2 separate regions of the Homo sapiens genome follow, and region 1 is linked to region 2. The links are contacts of gene promoters, found by promoter capture Hi-C in blood cells and fetal thymus (Javierre and others, 2016). All regions are on one chromosome and are shown on one strand. The core of a region is centred on a gene start or on the middle of the fragment in contact, and the rest is flanking DNA. Distances in the headings are between cores, read along the strand shown.

Region 1 (4,012 bases), core at 1,158-3,657, 830 kb before region 2:
CAGTCACATTTTCAGGTCATCTCTTGGTTTGTGCCAACAGACAACATATTTCATCATTCTGCGTGGATTTTACTAACCTCTTTCTCAGAGGGCAGCCTTGCTTCTCGGTCCCACGCTCACTTCCACATGTGGCTGTCAGGTATTGCTTCTGTAGCTTTGACAGTGAGGGGCTGAAGCTCAGAGAGGTTAAGTCACTGGCCCAGGAGAGCTGAGATTTGGTGGCAGGTCCTCTGACTTCCAAGGCAGAGTGAAGGGATGGATAAAGGACAGGAGGGTCACAGGTCAGAGGTGCACAGCCTCAGGTTCCATGGGGAGTTCTGGGCATAGATTGCTTTGTGATCTTGTACTTAGGGTCTCCCAAGGCTTGGTAGAGACAGTTGTAGCCAGTTCAGCCAAGAGCCACTGGATCCTTGGAGCCACATCTGTGTTGGCCGGAGCTGAGCCTGTGCTCCAGGGATCTCTCAGAGCTGAGCCTACTATGGTGGCCGCAATGGGAGCTGACTAGTGCTGCTGCCTGTGGTTGGGTAAGTTGAGTCTGGGGGGTGATTGGGGTTAAAAACCAGCTCACTTATACTCTCCAACCTTTGCAGCCTGGTTTGGGGCTGCCAAAGCCTAGAAGAAGGAGCAGCTTCTCCCTTCCAGACGAGGCAGCATTTTGTAATTTTACCACCTTGTGGGGGAGGCTTTTTCTAATTCCTGCAAAGTCCAGCCTGAAAGTCAGCTGAGTGGGTTGTGCCCAGCACTCCGTGAGCTCTGCAGACCTCTCATATGCCCCTAGATTTCTGGAAAGCCCTCTAGGCAGCCAGTACAAGGTCAAACACTTCTGTGCAGCGAATCCCTGCAGGGGGATTTGTTCCGGGAAGGGAATTACATTTCAATTTGATTTAATTCAATGAGAATGACACCAAATTGATCAGCTGGTAAAATGCCATTTGACGGGCAGATGTGCTCTTTCCAAGTCAATAGGAACCACCAGAAAAGTCAGTCTTGTTTTTTCAGACAGAACTGAAAGTTTTACCCATTTTCTTTGCCTTTTAAAAAGGGCTCAAATTCCCTGAAGGTGGAGAGACTTTTCCTGATAGGCCTGTTGACCTGAGCAAAGTGATTAAACCACCAGGCACCCAGGGAACACGAAACAAGTTCTATATCTGTTTTTTCATTTTTGTTTTTAATTAAAGGCTCCCTAAAGCCTAGGAGCTCTCCAGCTGTGGTTCCTTGCCCCTTTCTATATGCCAGCTTATTTTCTGGGGTGTAAGCAGACATTTGGGTACTTGACCATGTCCCCTGCAGGAGTTCGCAGAAACCATCTGGTCACCTCTGTTGACCTAGAAGGGTGCAGCGGTCCAGACTTCTGTGCACTTTGTACCAGACTCTTGTATGATCTTGAGAAATTTCTCAGATTCTTTGAGCCTTAGTTCTGTCATCTGTAAAATGGGCATGCAGTCTCCCTTCGTCCATCTCTGGGCTACTCCCTTTGGAGTAGTAACATGAAAAATAGCTATGGCCCCACAATAACCACTGCCATTGTTCCACACACCACAGTCACTAGCATTATTTTTGAGCAGTTACCATGGGGTGGGCACTATTGAAAGCTTCATCTGCATTAAATCGCATAATCCTTGTAACAATTCCATCAGGTAGATACAGTCTGTTTGGCTACGGTGCTTATTTTGAAAATGCAAATTTGTTTCAATGCGATCCATGTGTCAGGAAACTATTTGAGCATCATGTTAGTTTTGCATTTGCTTATGTCTGATTTGGTGTGTGAGAAACACAAGGTGAGTGCAGAAAATTGCACCCAGTTGAACTGAGCTGTGTAGGAATATACATAACACACACATGGACACACTTCAAACATCTCCCAGCATTCTCAGTTCCTGTGTGTTATGGCCACTCACAGGATGCTACAACCTTCCTTCTGACTCCAGATCTACCTCCTCCCACCACCTGACAGTAATTCTGAAGCTCGCTTCCACATACAGAGTGAAGTGTGTGTAGCGTCATGCTTATTGTAGTGTCTATGTATGTCTTTTATGGCATTTAACATGTGTAAAACCGTGTTACCCTTTTTATTAGGTTTCTTTTATTTTTCGTGTGTCGCCGAAGGAAGTTTATGAGCATTGTACCCCAACTCCATTGTTCTCATGAACCCTGTGGTTTTTGCACAGTGTGGTGATTCTTTGTTTTATTTTATTTTATTTTTTTCTAAATTGTGATAAAAAGACACAGCATAAAAATTTTCACTGTGATTTTTTTTTTTTTTTTTTGACAGAGTCTTGCTCTGTCGCCCAAGCTGGAGTGCATTGGCATGATCTCAGCTCACTGCAACTTCAGCCTCTTCGGTTCAAGCAATTATCCTGCCTCATCCTCCTGGGTGGCTGGGATTACAGGCATGTGCCACTGTGCCCGGCTAATTTTTGCATTTTTAGTAGAGATGGGGTTTTACCATGTTGGCCAGGCTGGTCCCGAACTCTTGACCTCAGGTGATCCACTTGCCTTGGCCTCCCAAAGTGCTGGGATTATAGGCATGAGCCACCATGCCCAGCCCAATGTGTCCATTTTAAAATATACAGCTCAGTGGTACTAAGGACATTCATATTGTGGTGCTACTGTCACCACCATCCATCCACAGAATTATTTTCATCTTAAAAAAACTGAACTTCTATACCCAGTTCACAACTCCCCACTTCTCTTCTCCCCTGCTCCTGGCAACCACCATTCTACTTCCAGTCTCTAGAAATTTGACTACTCTATAAGTGGAATCATACGGTATATGTCCTTTTGTGACTGTTTTATTTCACTTAGCATAATGTCCTCAAAGTTCACGCATGTTGTAGCATGGGTCAGAATTTCCTTCTTTTTTAAGGCTGAATAATCTTCCATTGTGTGTATATACTACACTTTGTTTATCCATAGCGGGTGACTTTTAGGAACACTTACGAGGCATGACAGCAGAGCTATCCTGTTATTTTTCTGTTTTGCACATGACGAAACAGGCACAGAGTGGTTAAGTGACTTCCCCGAGGTTTCCCCACTAATAAATGGGAGATGTGAGATTCAAGCCCAGGCCTTGCTCATTCTGCAGCTTGTGCCTCTGACACTGTGTCACCTCAAATGCTGTGTTACCTGCTTCCTTTTTTTTCACGTTATTGTCATCAAACCAGACGATGTTGACTTTGAGTCAGCTTGGTTATTAATTTCCTGTTGTTAACAGAAGCTTTAGTGTCTGAAATCTCTGCTGCACCATCTGGAATTTTTAATAAAAACTCAAGGAATTTCCAGGGGTTTCTGTGTATTGCATATGTGTATTAGCCAGGGAAAAATGCTATTTAAAAATAGAAATGCCTACAGCCACTTTTAAACTCCAGGTGTGGGGCGAGGAGGTGCCCAACAGAAGGAAGGCTGCTCTTTTGTTTAAAAAAAAAAACAAAAACACTATAGTCAGGCTTTTTGGATTATTCAAGGGAAGGCTCACTCCCTACCTCCACCTCGAATTGTCTGGAAAGGGGAGGCTCTAAACTAAATTGCTCTACAGAACAAGCTAGCAGGAATTCCCGAACAGTTCACTGGCAGCTCAAAAGGGAGGGAGTTTTCAGGGTCTTGTAACAGTCAGGAAAAGAGGAGATTAAATAATGTTCATGGTAGAGAAATTAAGTGCCTCTGAACAGGGCAGCAGTCTGGGGCTCCAGAAGAGTGATAAGACAGATGGGTACACAGTCATAGTAATAAAGAATACTATGGGAAGTATCCTTTGTTGAGGTGGTTAAAGAACTCTTTGATGGTGACAATTTTAAATGTTTTCAGCTGTGTGCTATTTTATACCCTCCTTCACCCTTAACGTAGTCAGCTACAGAGAGCAGGCAGGCTTGGGTTAGTGACACCTTAGTGCAGGAAGGTGGATGGAATGGGTTCCTGAGAAGGAGCAATTGTAGGGAACAGGACAGCAGGCGTGGGAAGTGCAACATGCGAGGGGCTCTTCCCACAAGTAGCTTAGATGGAGGCTGAGATTGCT
Region 2 (4,103 bases), core at 623-3,122:
AACCATTTCAAAATATTCCATTTCAATCTTTATTGATTGGTATGGAATGTTGCCTACAGTATATTCTTGCCTGAAAAATCTAGTTACCAGACAGACACTTACAGCACAATCCCATTTGTGTCAAATTATAGTCAAGTAGGAAAAAACCTAAGTCAAACCATGTCAGGGAAAAAATGAAATGTGTTGTTCATCTTCAATGAAAAGTTTAGGAGACTGTTCTGATGCCACAGGGATTCTAGCATCTCGGCCTCCTTCTTGGGCCCTATGAGATGGCAAATGGCTGTCCACATTCCCTGGACTGCGGTGTCCCCCAGGACTCCTTACACAGGTCCAGAGGTCCACCCTGATAGGACCAACTTGGGTCACATGCCCACCACTGAGCCAATGACTGTGGCCAAGGCGATCCTGCCCTCTTATCCAGCCTTGGTCACGAAAGGGAGTCAGAGTGCTATGAACAAGAGGAAGAGGAGTGGAGGCCACATATTATACATCTATCCACTGAAAAACGATTGATCTGGTTCCCCAGCCCCCTGCTTTTTTTTTTTTTTTTTGGTAAAATCTGCCCCTTGCCTCCTCCTGATTAGGGAACACCCCTGGGAGTTCACCCTGGCCCCACTGAGCGTATCTAAGTGTTGCTGGAAATCCTGGGTTCCCTCAGGCCTGTCTCAACTCAGATGCCATATGTTTCTCCTGGGGCCTCAAGTGTGAGCTTGAACTCTAGGCCTTCTAGCCCTGGCAGTCTTCCCAGTCCTGCCACTGCTTAGCAGAGTCAGACGTCATGTTCCTGAACCTGACACTGAGTAGGGTCCTCTCACCTGGATCACCACTCAGAACCACGGTGCTTCTACCTCCATGACTGCTGCTACTTTACACCTGGAGGCTCCCACCCAGTGGCCCAAGTCACACCTTTTGTTTACTGCTGACACTTCTCTCAAAGCCAGCCCTTCCCTCCCTTTCCCTCCCCTCCATTCCCCTCCTTTCCCTTCCCTTCCCCTCTCTTCCCTTCCCCTCCCTCCTCTCCTCCCTTCCCCTTCTTTCCCTTCCCGTCCTCTCCGTTCCCCTCCTCAGGATCAGTCTCTCCTCTACCAAGCCACTCCCTCCTCCACAAAGCATCAGTCACAGCTACTCTAATGCCACACATGAGACCAGGAACAGGAAATACGGTTGAATGGCATTTTGTTTTTTCAAACTGGATCCATCAGCTCTGCCTGACTCTTTTCCCTCTGCACCGGTTTCTAGCTGACATTCGGTACTTCTTCCTGGCATTACATTGTTTACGGTAGAGTTCAAGTTCCTCGAAGTACTTAGCTCTCAGGAGAGCCACTCTTTGCTCATAAGGGTGCTTCTCCAGGTCTGTCGCTGTTGACCACATCTTCCCTGTGGCCTTGGCCACCTGCACCACCGACCAGTTCGGGTTCTCCCTCTTCAGCTGAGCATAGTGGTCTTGGCAGAAGAGTAGGAAGGATGATGGAGGCCGTCTGGGTTCCTGGGGATCCCGCTTTCTCCGTTTCTTCCTCTTGCCAACATAATTCATCATTTCTTCCTGGTATCGGGCTTTGTCGAGTTTGGCCAGGGCTTCATATTTGGCCTTTTCATGCTTTGAGATGGATCTCCATTTTTCCGAACACTTTCTAGAGAACTCTTTAAAGCCAACATAGGTATTTGGCTGCTGCTCCTTGAATTTGTTTCTGTAATTCAGCAAAAAGTGAACGTAAGAAGAGACATTTGCCTTAGGCTTTAGCTGGATTTCTTTTCCCATGTTCGTAAGTTCACCTTTTTTCTGGATTCAGTAACGTGGACAGGAGAGACTGTTGTTCCCACACTCCAGGAGCAATCTAGAAAGTGCTGTACTTGCAGCGAATTTTTCTGTCTGCAAGAGCTGTAGTCAGGGCTCAGCCTTTTCAGTGCTGATGGCATTGTTGAGTCAGAGGAGGGAAACTGTGACATCATCCACAAGCCAGCCAATCCCAGCCAACACCTGTGGGCATTTGTGTACAGGTGCTCGTATTGGTTGGTTACTTGAGGGTCAATGTTTGCCTCTCATGAAAGATGATGGTTCATTCATAGTAGGCTATGAGGCAGCTATGTCCCCCAGAAATAATTCTCCTTGGCTTCCTGGAGGCAGTGGGTTTTGCTGCACTTTAGGGGCTTAAAATCCCTAGGCTGTAGTGACAGGCCATGGGGTCTGCCTTCCTCACTATACGATTTTCAGGATGCCTCATCATCCCTTCCAAAGACAGGCTGAGCATAATGAACATGGGGAGGTGGATAGATCCAGGGCTGTCATGATAAAATGTGAAGTGTTTCTGTTTGCCTTGAACAGTGGCAGCTCATGCCATACAAAGGGTTTAGTAGTAACTCTAAAAGTAATCAGGTATGACAGCTGTGACTTGGTTCCTGTCAGGACAAAGTTGTCTAATTTAAAACCTGAGCACTTGGGCTATGAGTTGGAACTCTTCATTTCTCTGAAGAAATGTGAGGCGAAAGAGGGGGGAGAACCTTGAGATTTTATTAATTAACACTGGAGTTCATGAAAATGAAATGGAATTTGTAGCACATCCAGAAGCCTCCCCACTCTCATGTGAGGGGTCCCCATTTCTTAGGTTTAGAACACAAAGCTGTAACAGCTACACTCAAACTGGCCGGCTTCTGGCTTTTGGTCAAAGTAATTGCAGATATTCCACTAGTCTTTCAATTGGAGGGAAGAGAAAAGATGAAAAAGTGTCATTCTGGGGGCCTTTGGACACTGCTAGGTACTTGCCTGTGTGGCACTGGGTTTAATATCACTTAATGGTTGATGATAGCCCCAAATTTATAGGACTAGAAAACTGAGTTTCATTAACATAAAAAGTAACATGTTCAAGGTTGAACAGCCACTCACAGGTGAGAGTGTGGATTTTGACGGCTGATTGCTTGACCTAAGCCTGTGCTTCATCCTGCCTGCACAGAGCTGTTGCCAGGGCACTGAGGGTCCAGATATGTGGTCTCAGCAGCTGAGCCGGACAAGGAAACTTGCCTAAGACTAGACCATATTTTGAATTTTTCCAGGTTCATTCCCAGGGTTCCAAGACTTCAGTGTTCATCTTCTGTAAAAGAAAGATGGAAACTAATAAGAGTCTCCAATCCTGAATTCTTGCCCAGCTCTGCTGCAAGGTGGCTGGCCTACCTAAGCCATCCCCTTCCTCCCTGTGAGCCAATGATCTCTCATAAATTGAGCATTCTGGACTGGCCAGGGAAGCCCCTCCAGGGGACAAGCTGTAGTTGTGTGGCAGGATTTGGGGGCCTATAAGATATCAGGTGCCATCAAGGAAGTCTGGGCTAGTAGGGGGTCTCGCAAAGGAACGGATTACTCTGGGGACACTTCTCAGCCTAGGTAGCCTTTTTCCCCCTGGCTCTTTCTCCCAAGGGGCCAGAGGTTGACTCACACATTTTTTGGACATGAGCAGGGCTGCCTAGATGAATGGGACACAGCTCCTTTCTGAGATCAAAAGATGGGACATGAGGAAGAACTTTAATGAAAGTCCACATATTCATCAGACTCTGCTCAGGCTCAGACACACACACACACACACACACACACACACACACACACACACACACACACACAGAGTAGCTTATCTGTGCCTCTTAACCTTCCATCCCTCTCATGATAAGATCCAGGAAGATTAACCCACAATAGCTATCGGGAAGCTAGCAGATTTAAGAAGAAAAGGCAGTAAAAGGGAAAAGCTATGTCAACCTTTTGGTGTTGTCAAAGTTCCAACTTGGAGGATGAAGCAGGGGAAGTCCTTGTTTAGGGGAGCTTAGGAAAGGTAAATAAATCTGGCTTCCTAAATCAATGCTGTGTGCTGGGTATCTAAGAGTTGCCCTTCCAGATCCCCTTTCCAGCCTTCTCCAACCTCTCTTCAACCTTCTCTGGCCTGGGAAGCTGGTCTGTATGAGCCACATCAGAGGATCCCATACCCTCTGGTTTCCATCTCACTTTGGTCAATGGGGCCCTCAGGAGATCAGAGATGGAGGAAAGTTAAGTCAAGGCATTTATTCTCCTGGATCCCCACCCCAGGGTCACTTGGAGCTGGTTCTGTGTCCCTGGACTGAAGGTC

What was found. The method cuts DNA at HindIII sites, captures the fragments that hold promoters and counts their contacts. A CHiCAGO score of 5 or more calls a contact.
Region 1: a fragment that was not itself captured here is called in contact with the fragment with the promoter of HMGB4 in region 2 in 1 of 17 cell types (M2 macrophages); the score reaches 5.6 in M2 macrophages.

The regions. Positions count from the first base shown.
Region 1 is chr1:34,689,618-34,693,629 of GRCh38, reverse strand. No RefSeq gene overlaps it. Among named protein-coding and RNA genes, the nearest start is that of MIR552, 22 kb to the right of the region's middle. The HindIII fragment of the contact is 1,625 bases long and covers 1,595-3,219 here.
Region 2 is chr1:33,861,848-33,865,950 of GRCh38, reverse strand. HMGB4 (high mobility group box 4) reads right to left here and starts at 1,872. Exons shown (of 1, transcript NM_001379301.1): 1 at 1,160-1,872. The coding sequence starts at 1,759. The coding sequence ends at 1,199. The region is part of intron 5 of CSMD2 (CUB and Sushi multiple domains 2); the gene reads left to right. The HindIII fragment of the contact is 10,607 bases long and covers 1-4,103 here.